Regions from separate parts of the Homo sapiens genome. Here region 2 is linked to region 1. The links are contacts of gene promoters, found by promoter capture Hi-C in human tissues and cell types (Jung and others, 2019). All regions are on one chromosome and are shown on one strand. Each heading gives the region's core, a stretch centred on a gene start or on the middle of the fragment in contact. The rest is flanking DNA. Distances are from core to core; before and after follow the strand shown. Region 1 holds the start of ZNF136 (zinc finger protein 136). Region 2 overlaps LOC124904638 (a long non-coding RNA gene).

The links. The method cuts DNA at HindIII sites, captures the fragments that hold promoters and counts their contacts. A contact is called where the count stands out against the background at its distance.
Region 2: a contact is called between a fragment that was not itself captured here and the fragment with the promoter of ZNF136 in region 1, in 1 of the 25 tissues and cell types used here (small bowel).

Annotation. Positions count from the first base shown.
Region 1 is chr19:12,159,102-12,165,543 of GRCh38, reverse strand. It overlaps ZNF136 (zinc finger protein 136), which reads right to left and starts at 2,448. Exons shown (of 4, transcript NM_003437.5): 1 at 2,338-2,448. The coding sequence starts at 2,340. RefSeq lists enhancers at 2,348-2,507, 2,518-2,607. The HindIII fragment of the contact is 18,447 bases long and covers 1-5,262 here.
Region 2 is chr19:11,579,721-11,586,162 of GRCh38, reverse strand. It overlaps LOC124904638 (a long non-coding RNA gene), which reads right to left. Exons shown (of 2, transcript XR_007067140.1): 2 at 2,499-2,746. It also overlaps the pseudogene GAPDHP76. Among named protein-coding and RNA genes, the nearest start is that of ACP5, 5.3 kb to the right of the region's middle. RefSeq lists enhancers at 2,069-2,128, 2,139-2,278, 4,180-4,379 and a silencer at 3,879-4,044. The HindIII fragment of the contact is 7,524 bases long and covers 1-5,019 here.

The DNA of each region.
Region 1 (6,442 bases), core at 1,199-3,698:
GAAATACAGATACAAGCCGTTGAAAATAAGAATTTTTAAAATGTGGAATATAAGACTAATCTCTTTCCCCCTGAAATCTACCTCTTGGGAAATACATTATCTTCTCTATGAAGCTCTACTGATAAAATGCACTTTCAACTAAATGAAATACTCAAGCTGAACTTGTTGTTAAGGCAAGAATCCCAGGGAGAAGCAGTGCTGACCTGGAATACAGACATTCGTCTGACTCCAGTGTCAGCAGAGGTCATCTTATCTATCAGTTGGAACATCCCTCTACCCCCATAGTGCTCACTGAAATGCTCAGTGACCACCCGCCCAAGAGACACTGCATTACGCGACACTGTGTACCCAAAGTGCATTTTGTTTTTCAGGTTATTCCACCACCTCGCTGAGATAGTTTTTCTCCCTTCACAAGGCTGAGAGAATACAAAGGACAGGAATCATTTCCGTCTTTTCCCTTGTCGACCTAAAAAGTAGAGGCTGAAACACAAAATATGACCCAAAGTGTCTGAAAAAGGGGGACAGGATGTGGGCTGATACAAAGTTGTTTGTCAGGAATTCTCACTGATTTACAGAAGTAACATTGATAAGCGCGTGGCTATGCACTGTTAAGCTATAGGGTGTGGGTTCCAGGGTCCCGTGTTGCATTAGTAAGTTGATTATACCTACTTGTGGCAATAGCAGTTTCAAAAGATGAATTCATAGCTTCAGGGAGTTAGAAGGTGATTGCTGTATCACTTGAATGTCTCTATGTGCCCGTTCATTTAAAAGGACCCACATTTATCAGACGAAAATTATTTTTTTGAGGCCGGGTACAGTTACGCCTGTAATCCCAGCACTCTGGGAGGCCAAGGCAGGCGGATCGCGAGGTCAGGAGATCAAGACCATCCTGGCTAACAAGGTGAAACTCCGTCTCTACTAAAAACACAAAAAATTAGCCGGGCGTGGTGGCATGCGCCTGTAGTCCCAGGTACTGGGGAGGCTGAGGCAGGAGAATCGCTTGAATCCGGGAGGCAGAGGTTGCAGTGAGCCGACATCACGCCACTGCACTCCAGCTTGGGCGACAGAGAGACTCCGTCTCAAAAAAAAAAAAAAAAAAAAAAAGTTATCTGGGAGTGGTGGCGCAAAACTGTGGTCCCAACTACAGGGGAGGCTGAGGCAGGAGAATCGCTTGAACCCAGAAGATGGAGGTTGCAGTGAGCCGAGATCACGTCACTGCACTCCAGCCTAGGCGACAGAGCGAGACTCTTTCAAAACACACAAAAAATTTTCTTTTCTCAATCCTCAATACCAGCATCTGATTGGCTGACCACCAGTGTGTCTCCAAAGGATGGAAACTGGGGTTGGGGGAGGAAAAGCTGAGTGCCCCCAGAGGTTGGCTATTTAGAAGCAGGGTATGCTAGATTTATCCTAGTCCCAGGGCATTCTCCCAGCCTTCTATTTCAACTGTCCTCTAGGAAGACTCACCCAAGACCCAATATTCACTAGATCCTCCAAGAGACTTGGCAGCTGTGGGCAGCTTGAGTCAGCCCCAGACAGTTTTGAAACCCAGAACCAGGAAAAAATAAATAGGAGGGGGCGCTGAAGGCATATCACCCTGTAAAGATTCCAAAGGGGAACCTCAACTCAAAGACATTCTGATGAGGTATCTGTGCATAGAGGAGACAAAAGGACAAGCACAAAGGTTTCTTACAGCGGAGTGTCAAGGCTATGAACAGAAAACAAACCTTGATGAAAGAGTAATCCATTGCTTTGTTGAAAAATAAACAATGAAAGCACAATATCTGAAATGTAGAATATAGGAGAAACGGTTGCTAATGTCGTGAATGGAAGGGGAGAGGTTGGCGTTTGGAAAAGCGAAAAGAGAACAGGAAATTTGGGGATTTACTGCAAGCCCTGGAAACAGCAGGCTGGGGGACAGAGTGAGGATTTGGGACCCTGCATCCCATACACTTAGAAAACTCAGGGAAAAACGGGTGTCCTCTGTGGAGAGAAAAGGAACTGGGAACCTCATACACCACAGCTCCTTCCACGCACAAGTCAGGATTTCCCCCACCCCATGACCCTCGCGTGGGCCCCGCACAATCTGAAGAGACTTGGGTCTTCGGGGCCGGGGCCGCAATCGCGGCACAGGGCGGGACGAGGACGCCCGGGGTCCCGGCTGCCGGCCCAGCCCCACCCTGAGGCCGAGGGTACCAAGGGCTGAGCTGCGCCAGAGGGACTCGGTACGCAGACCCAGAGTCGCCCACGGGAAGGCCCGGGCCGCGCCACAGCCAGTTCCGGTCGTCCAACCAGCCCCTCCTCCCTGTCTCGGGACGCAGGGCCCGACACACTCACCATTTCCTGACTCCCGGGTGTCCCAGCTTCCTCCCTCCGGATCCCAAGGCAGGTACAGGAAACCGCGCCACAGAGACTCCAGGCGAGCCACTCTGGGCCTCTGGGACTAGCGAAGCGAAACCAAGTACGGCAGACGCGAGAAATGAAAATCCCGCGAGAAGGTTGAACGTCTGCAGCTGCGTCCCCGACGGCGCGCCTGATTGGACCGATCGCAGAGCTCCTCCCCGGTGCCCCTGATTGGGTACAGCTTCGGGCTCTGCCCCCTGCATCTTGACAGATGTGAATGACAGGAGATGTGAAGCATAGATGAGTGAAGCGGGAATGAGGGGTCTTGGCCCCAGCCCTCAAACGCAGGGTGGACTTCTTCCCCTCGTCCCCTTCACTGTACTTGGTCTGCGGGGGATGGGGAGATGGGAGATACTTGCATTTTAGCAGAACTTAATCCGGGTTTACCAAAGGAGATACTTCCTGTACTCAGTGGGTCATTTCTTCATCTACCTCTTGCATGAGGAGTCACAGGTGTGCGCAGGGAGTTCCAGGCAGGACTGGAACAGAAGAAAGGGCGTGATATTCCCAGGGATCGGAAATTTGGGATGAGGATATGGGAAGCGTGCCCAAGGCTTTCTCATACCATACCTCTTTATCTCTCTCTATTTTTTACTTTATTTACTTATTTATTACTTTATTTACTTATTTATTACTTTATTTATTTATTTGAGACAGGGTCTAGCTCTGCCACCCAGGTTAGAGTGCAATGGCATGATCATAGCTCACTGCAGCCTCCATCTCCTGGGTTCAAGCGAACCTTCCGCTTCAGTCCCCTGAGTAGTAGAGACTACAGGTACATGCCACCAAGCCCGGCAAATTCTTTAATTTTTTGTAGAGACGGGATTTCGTTTGTTGTCCAGGCTGGTCTTGAACTCCTAGCCTCAAGTGAACCTCCCACTTTCGCCTCCCAAATCAATCTACTCATTTTCACCCAAGAAAATAAAAAACTGCCAACAAGTGAATAAAATTATTAAATACATGGAAAAACAAGTTCTATTTCCGTAATCTGTAAAGAAATCAAAAGGGAAGTAAAGCGAAAATTTGAACTAGCTCAGATAAGCAGGGCACTTCAGAACATTTAAAAAGGAAAAGATGAATTCAGAAGGTAGAACATATTCCCAAGCTTAAGAGTCAGTGACTGCTGAAGTGGAGCCACAGAGTACATTAGACCCTGATGATGAGGCAGGAAACCTAAGGATTTAACTCTGGGAGCTCAACATGCCCTCCTGTCACAGCATCACAATGTGGGAACGCTCCCTCCTTCAATACCTTAATAATTTACACCAGCAGAAAACTCTCACCTGTGGTCAATTTAGGCCCCTTGAAATTCCAACCTCTCTAGCTCATAAACCATTTCTCTGGAACGCTACCTAAATGAGTCTCTAAATATGATCTTTACATATTTTCTTCATATATACAAATTACAGCCTGACTGCAGCAACTCTATACATAGAAAAATCAAGGCCGGGCACAGTGGTTCATGCCTGTAATCCCCAACACTTTGAGAGGCCGAGGCGGGCGGATCACTTGAGGTCAGGAGTTCAAAACCAGCCTGGCCAAGATGGCGAAACCCCGTCTCTACTAAAATTACAAAAATTAGCCGGGCGCCTATAATCCCAGCTTCTGGGGAGGCTGAGGCACAAGAATCGCTTGAACCCGGGAGGTAGAGGTTCCAGTGAGCCGAGATCGCGCCACTGCACTCCAGCCTGGGTGACAGAGCAAGACTCCGTCTCAAAAAACAAAAAGTTTTCCGGAAAACTACCTTGGGAAACTAGAGGTACAACCTCAGAAAGGAGAGAAACCCGCACGTGCATTTGCCTGTGAAGTTCCTGCTTTCCAGGGCTCTGCAGCTTCTCAGAATCCACACTCCTGGAGCTGGAGCTGGAGCTGTTCGGAGCAGCTGGAGACTACCTACAGGGGAAGGCAGGCTGCCCAGGAAGCAATCGGGGGAGCTCCCTTTCCCTCCCTTTGCAGGCTCCAGATTAGTCTCAGTGTGGATCACCGGCCTCAGGCTATGCTGCCCCCTGCAAGTTTTCCACCTGCTTTTCACCCACATTGTTCAGTTCCACGAGGCAAACACCCTCAATCCCAGTGTTCGAAAGAGAATCCAGCAGAGTCCCTGCTTTCCTCCTGTGTTTACCGTAAAGTAGAAGAGAAAAATTTCAAGACAGTTTTAAGTGGATTTTAAAACTGGCAAATAATTATTCCTTTGATAAAATGAAGAAGCCAGCAAACTATTATTTCGACATTAACAAACTGTTATATAAAACCACTAATGAAGGTCGGGCGCGGTGGCTCACGCCTGTAATCTCAGCACTTTGGGAGGGCGAGGCGGGCGGATCACCTAAGGTTAGGAGTTCGAGACCAGCCTGACCAACATGGAGAAACCTCGTCTCTAAAAGTACAAAATTAGCCAGGCGTGGTGGCGCGTGCCTGTAATCCCAGCTACTCAGGAGGCTGAGGCAGGAGAATCGCTTGAACCTGGGAGGCGGAAGTTGCCGTGAGCTGAGATCACACCATTGCACTCCAGCCTGGGCAACAAGAGCAACACGGTGAAACTCTGTCTCTACTAAAATACAAAAAATTAGCTGGGCGTGGCAGTGTGCGCCTGTAGTCCCAGCTACTCGGGAGGCTGAGACAGGAGAATTGCTTGAACCCCAGAGGCAGAGGTTGCAGTGAGTTGAGATCGCGCCACTGCACTCCAGCCTGGGCGACAGAGCGAGACTCCGTCTCCAAAAAAAAAAAAAAAAACTAATGAAATATGGACTCTCTTCTGCTTCAGCAGCTCCCTGACCTTCACAGTTGATGGTTGTCACCAGGTGCTCTGTGTCAGGAGATGTACATGTGCAGTTTAGCCATTGAAAATTCTCTCTTAAATCGGGCGCGGTGGCTGCGCTAGGGGGACTCCAGTCCACCGGTCCCGAAGTCGCCCCGGACAGGCCTGGGTCCCGTCACAGCAGGTTCCTGTCCAGCACCTTGCTCCACAGTCTCGGGACATCCCCCCAGCACTCACCATTTCCTGGCTTCTGAGGTGTCTATGGTTCTCCTTATGTCTTTCGTGTTCATTGCAAGTCACAGCTGGAAAGAAGCTGCAGCGAAGCCACCTCTGGTGCTTCTCAGAGCAGCATAGACCTGACACCCACTGTGGGCGGGTGAAAGGAACGCCTCGCAGTTTTATGGAGCTTCGCGGCCTCCTCCCAGAGCCGCGCCTGATTGGACAATTTGCACAGCCACACCCCCCCGCCCCTCCTGATTGGACAGTGCCACGGGCCCCGCCTTCTGGGAGGCGGAGTGAGAGGAGAATTTAACACCTGGCTGAGTGGAGCTTGAATGAAAGGTTCTAGGCCCGACATGTGGCTCACACCTATACAATCCCAGGACTCGGGGAGGGCTGGAAAGGAGAACTGCTTGAGGCCAGGAGTTCAAGACCAGCTTGAGCAACGTAGTGAGACCTCATCTCTAAAAAAAAAAGAAAAAAAAAAAAAATTAGCCCAGCCTGGTGGCCCTGCAACTATAGTCCCAGCTACTTAGCAGGCTGAGTAAAGAGGATTGCTTGAACCTTGAAGGTAGAGGCTGCAGTTAGCTATGATCAGCGCACTGCACTCCAGCCTAGGTGACAGAGTAACACCCTGTCTCGAAAAAAAAAAAAAAGAAAAGAAAAGAAAAGAAAAATATAGATTCTAGCCACAGCCGGATTTCCTCCTTGCACTGCAGCCTGGCCCCCACCCTGGGGATACTGGTATTTCAGAATATGTTTCAGGCTTTCCAGAGCTGACACTGTTGTCTTCCTGTACTCAGTGGGCCCTTCTTTCAGGGGAGGTGGGGGTGGGGGGAGGGGGTTTGAGGTGGGGAGGTTGTCTGCCTTGAGGTCTAGTCAGGCCAACACTGGAAGAGGAGAGAGGCCTGATGTCGTCAGAGATTATAAATTTGGGATGAGGGATAGCCAAAGATTTTTCATACTTTATCTCTCAGTCTACTCATTTTCACTCAAGAAAACAACAAGCCAACAACAGAATAAAACTAAGTGCATGGAAAAGCTGGAATTATATGGCAGCTA
Region 2 (6,442 bases), core at 8-2,507, 580 kb after region 1:
GCTGGGACTACAGATACACCCCACCATGCCTGGATAATTTTTTTAAACTTTTTGTAGAGACAGAGTCTTGCTATGTTGGCCAGGCTGGTCTTGAACTCCTAGGCTCAAGTGATCCTCCAACCGCAGCTTCCCAAAGTGTTGGGATTACAGGCATGAGTCACTGCACCTGGCCTCCATCCCTATTTAAAACAAAAAAAGAAAAAAGAAAGAAAGAAAACCAAACCAAACCAAAAAAAAACGTTGTCACGGATGACCTTGGCCGGAGGGTAAGCAGTTGGTGGTGCAGGAGGCATTGCTGACGATCATGAGGTTTTTGTATCTCTCATGGTTCATGTCCATCACAAACATGGGGGCATGGGCAGAGGGGGCAGAGATGGTGATCCCTTTGGCTGCCCATCCTAAGCGAGCCCCAGCCTTCCCCATGGTCGTGAAGATGCTGCTGGTGGACTCCATGACATAACCAGTGCCAGCATCGTCACCCAATTTGATTTTGCTGGGATCTGGCTTCTAGAAGATGGGGATGAGATTCCCATTTCCTATTGATGACAAGCTTCCCTTCTCTTTCTCAGTCTTTTCTTTTCTTTTTTTTTTTTTTTAAGAGAGAGAGGATCTCCCTATGTTGCCTAGGCTGGTCCTGAACTCCTGGTCTCAAGTGATCCTCCCACCTCAACCTCCTAAGTAGCTGAGATTACAAGCATGAGCCACCACACCCAGCCCACTTCTCAGCTTTGATGGTGCCGCGGAACTTGCCGTGGGTAGAATCATATTGGAACATGTAGACCATGTAGTTGAGGTCAATGAAGGGGTCATTGAGGTGACAACATCCATTCTGCCAGAGTTAAAAGCAGCTCTGGTGCCCTGGTGACCAGGCACCCAATATGGCCAAATCCATTTACTCCTGTCTTCACTTTCACCACGGTGTCTCGGGGACATGCCTTTTTCACTGCATGAAAAGATGTGGCTGTCTGTCAAATGGGAGGAGCAGAGAGGCTCTGCCTTTTTAATCTTTAAGAAAAAAAATTCAGGCTGGGCATGGTGGCTCACGCCTGTAATCCCAGCACCTTGGGAGGCCAAGGCAGGCGGATCACAAGGTCAGGAGATCCAGACCATCCTTACTAACATGGTGAAACCCCGTCTCTACTAAAAAATACAAAAAATTAGCTGGGCGTGGTGGCGGGCACCTGTAGTCCCAGCTACTTGGGAGGCTGAGGCAGGAGAATGGCGTGAACCCGGGAGGCGGAGCTTGCAGTGAGCCAAGATCGCGCCACTGCACTCCAGCCTGGGTGATGGAGCAAGACTCTGTCTCAAATAATAATAATAATAATAATTTAGATGGGGTCTCACTGTGTCACCCAGGCTTGTCTCAAACTCCTGGGCTCCAGTGATCCACCCACCTCAACCTCCCAAAGTGCTGGGATTACAGGTGTGAGCCACCACACCCGGCCTATTATTATTATTTGAGACAGTCTTGCTCTTGTCGCCCAGGCTGGAGTGCAGTGGCACGATCTTGGCTCACTGCAACCTCTGCTTCCCGGGTTCAAGCGATTCTCCTGCCTCAGCCTCCCGAGTAGCTGGGATTACAGGTGGCTGCCACCACGCCCAGCTAATTTTTTTTGTATTTTTAGTAGAGATGGGGTTTCACCTTGTTGGTCAGGCTGGTCTCAAACACCTGACCTCAGGTGATCCGCCCACCTCAGCCTCCCAAAGTGCTGGGATTACAGGCGTGAGCCACTGCTCCTGGCCCTGTCTTTTAATTTTTAAAGGGTAGGGGGCACCATGACCCATCTTTGCCCACCTAAACCACCTATTCAGCAGCCCATGCCCCGCAGCCCACAGCTGGGGGACATCATGCAAAATCTAAGTCAGATCTGTCCCTCTGATCAGAACCCTCTGTGGCTCCCACCTTACCCAGATAAAAGCCCCCTTCCCTGCAGCCCCCAAGAGCACACGCAACCTGCCCCACCCACACCCTTCTCTGTTCCTTGCCCTTGACCTTGCAGACTCAACCTTCCGGATTCACTTCCCCCTTGCTCACTCTGCTCCAGCCACAAAAGCCAATTTTTGGTTCCTCAAATCAAACTAACTCATGACAGCATTTTGAATTTTGAAGCCTTGGGGCCCCGAAAAAGTCCATCTTTTTTTTTTTTTTTTAAGATCGAGTCTCACTGTGTTGCCCAGGCTGGAGTGCGGTGGTGTGATCTCGACTCACTGCAACCTCTGCCTCCCTGGTTCAAGCAATTCTCCGGCCTCAGCCTCCCAAGTAGCTGGGATTACAGGTGCTCGCTGCCATGCCCAGCTAATTTTTTTGTATTTTAGTAGAGAAAGGGTTTCACCTTGTTGCCTAGGCTGATCTTGAACTCCTGAACTCAGGCAATCTGTCTGCCTCAGCCTCCCAAAGTGCTGGGATTACAGGCGTGAGCCACTGCGCCCGGCCCAAAAATCCATCTTTGTGGGTTCCTTTGTAAATGTGTAGTCAATTTAGAAATTTAGAAACACGGTTTCCCTTAAGCCTTTATTTAGTTACAATCACAACTAACATGTTACTTATACACCTGGCAAAGTGAAACATCAAAAAATTAATTCAGGGCCTGGCCTCAGGCCTGTAATCCCAGCACTTTGGGATGCCAAGGCAGACGGATCACTTGAGGTCAGGAGAATCGCTTGAACCTGGGAGACGGAGGTTGGGACGAGCTGAAGATCACACCACTGCGCTCCAGCTTGGGTGACAGAGTGAGTGAGACTCCATCTCAACAAAAAGAAAAAGAAATATCACTTTAAGAGGTCATTGGATGCATATTTGGGTCCGTTTATAAGTTTAGTGGATTGAAATTAACATTTTACATTTTATAAGTGTGATGCATTTTATTCTATACTCTTTTACTACTATAATAATAATTATTATTATTAATTTTTTTTTTGAGATGGAGTCTCGCTCTGTCACCCAAGCCGGATGGAGTGCAGTGGCGCGATCTTGGCTCACTGCAAGCTCCACCTCCCAGGTTCATGCCATTCTCCTGCCTCAGCCTCCCGAGTAGCTGGGACTACAGGCGCCCACCACCACGCCCAGCTAATTTTTTTGTATTTTTAGTAGAGACGGGGTTTCACCGTGTTAGCCATGTTGCTCTCGATCTCCTGACCTCGTGATCCGCCCGCCTCGGCCTCCCAAAGTGATGGGATTACAGGCGTGAGCCACTGCGCCCGGTCAATTATTATTATTTTTTAGAGACAGTGTATCAGCTCTGTCACCCAGACTGGAGTGCAGTGGTGCAATCATGGCTCACTGCAGCCTCGACCTCCTGAGCAATGCTCCCACCTCAGCCTCCTGAGTAGCTGGGCTACAGGTGCACACAACCACGCCCAGCTAATTTTATTTTTAAGAGATGAGGTCTCTACAAAAAGTGTTGGGATGACAGGTGTGAGCCACTGTGCCAGCTTATTCTTTAATCTTTTAATTTATTATTATTATTTTTTGAGACAGAGTCTTGCTCTACCACCCAGGCTAGAGTGCAATGGTGCGATCTCAGCTCACTGCAACCTCTGCCTCCCGGGTTCAAGCGATTCTCCTGCCTCAGCCTCCTGAGTAGCTGGGACTACAGGCACGTGCCACCACACCCAGGTAATTTTTTGTATTTATAGTAGAGATGGGGTTTCACCATGTTAGCCAGGATGGTCTCGATCTCCTGACCTCTTGATCCACCCGCCTCGGCCTCCCAAAGTGCTGGGATTACAGGCATGAGCCACTGCACCTGGCCTATTCTTTAATCTTTTTAAATGTCTCCACCAAGCAAACACCTTGAGAAGTCCTTATCAGTTATTAAAAATCTACAATGCAAACATACAAATAAAAGGAGAACAGTAAGTTCTCTTAAACATTCTGATACTACTTCTAAACTTAGCCAATAAACTGAGAATGAATGTTAATTTTTTAAATAAACAGGCCAGGGGCAGTGGTTCACACCTGTAATCCCAGCACTTTGAGGGGCTGAGTTGGGAGGATTGCTTGAACTCAGGAGTTCAAGAGCAGCCTGGACAAGGTGACAAATCCCTCTCTCTACAAAAAATACAAAAATTAGCTGGGTGTGGTGGTGTGTGCCTGTAGTCTCAATCCCCAGGAGGCCAAGGGGTGTGGGAGGATCCCCTGAGCCCAGAAGGTCGAGTCTGCAGTGAGCCGTGATCGCATCACTGGTCTCCAGCCTGGGTGACTCTGTTTTAGAAAAAGAAAAAAGAAAGAAAAAAAAAGCTTTCATTAACTGAAGACAGACTGAAAGCAAGAGAAACTGAAAGCAAGATAAATGAGTGGGTGGTTTTCTCAAGCACTGGTAAGTGCTGCAGAGAAAACTACAGCAACAGGAGAGTCAATGATGGGGGCAGGGTGGTGCATTTCAGATAATTTCAGATAAATTATCTTTTTCTTTTTTTTTTTTTTTTTTTGAGACAGAGTCTCACTCTGTCACCCAGGCTAGAGTACAGTGGCACGATCTTGGCTCACTGCAACCTCCGCCTCCCAGGTTCAAGCAATTCTCCTGCCTCGACCTCCTGAGTAGCTGGGACCACAGGTTTGTGCCACCACGCCCAGCTAATTTCTGTATTTTTAGTAGAGATGGGGTTTCACCATGTTGGCCAGGCTGGTCTCGAACTCCTGGCCTCAAGTGATCCACCCGGCTTGGCTTCCCAAAGTGCTGGGATTACAGGCGTGAGCCACCACGCCCAGACTCATTTCAGATAAATTAAAGGAACTTGAACACAATGGGTGACCTCAGTATCTGACTAAGGAAGACCCTTCCAGGCAGGGAGAACAGAAAGTGCCAAGACCCTGAGGCCAGAGTGTATCTGAGACAGTCAAGCAATGCGGAGGAGGTCAGAGGAGCAAGAAACAGGGAAAGCAGGATTGGCAGGAGGAAGGAAGGGAAGGGATTGGGTAGAGACAGCAGCGGAGAACAGGACCTGGATGTATTGGCAACAGGAGGAACTCACTCGTGGGGTTGTTGACATCTGAGATTGACACTGGTGTTGGGAAAATAGGAAAGGGTGGAGGTGGAGGGAGATTCTGAGTCACAGCCTGATCTAGCTCCACAGAAAATCAGCAGAAGAGAGTTCTCCTGGGTGAATGGAGAGAGAAGAGCTTATTCAGCACCCTGGAGGAGACCAGAGAGAGATAGCCAAGAACGCACAGGTTTTATTACATGCTCTGTGCAAGATCAGGTTTATTTTTTTCATTGTGCTCTCTCTCTCTCTCTCTCTCTCTCTCTGAGACAAGAGTCTAGCTGTGTTGCCCAGGCTGAAGGTCAGTGGTGCATTCGTAGCTTATTGCAGCCTCAAACTCCCAGGCTCAAGCGATCCTCCACCTCAGCTTCCTGAGTAGATGGAACCACAGGTGTGCACCACCATGCCTGGCTAATTTTTTTTTTTTTTTTTTTTTTTTTTGTAGCAATGTGGTCTCGCCACGATGCCCAGGCTGTTCCTGAACTCCCGGGCTCAAGCGATCCTCCCACATTGGCTGGGTTTACAGGCCTGAGCCACCATGCTTGGCCAGCTTTTTCAATTTAAAAAATATAGAAAGTGTTAATACAAATTAAAAAGTTATAAAATAGTGCCAATAGTATCCCATTTTTCCGAAGACAAACATAGGCAGAGAAAAATTAATGGATACTGTCTCTCTGGGCAGGGGTATTACTGGCTATTATAATCTTTTTCTTCGTGCATTCCAGAATTTACCAACTTTTCTACAAAGATCATGTAGCACAATAAGATAATAAACATAATTTTGTGTGATCTCAAAATACAGGAAGCATAGAAGCTTCCAAAACACGCCTGTACCCACCACGTGAAGAAACAGATGTTAACATTTGGTCATAATTGCTTCAGATTTCTTTCTTTTTTTTTTTTTCTGTTTTTTTTTTGGGGGGGACAGAGTCTTGCTCTGTCGCCCAGGCTGGAATGTAGTGGCATGATATTGGCTCAGTGCAACCTCCTCCTCCTGGGTTGGAGTGCAGTGGCATGATCTCAGTTCACTGCAACCTCTGCCTCCTGGGTTCAAGAGAGCACCTCCAGCTAATTTTTGTCTTTTTAGTAGAGACAAGGTTTTGCCATGTTGCCCAGGCTGGTCTGGAACACCTGACCTCAAGTGATCCGCTCACCTCGGCCTCCCAAAGTGCCAGGATTACAGGTGTGAGACACCACACCGGCTAAATAATAAGTTTTTAAAAAAACAGGAGACTGGCCAGGCATGGTGACTCACGCCTGTAATCGCAGAACTTTGGGAGGCTGAGGTGGGCAGATCACCTGAGATCGGGCATTGGAGACCAGCCTGGCCAACATGGAGAAACCCCGTCTCTACTAAAAATACAAAATTAGCCGGGCGTGGTGGTGCGTGCCTGTAATCACAGCTACTAGGGAGGCTGAGGCAGGAGAATCGCTTGTACCCGGGAGGCGGAGGTTGCGT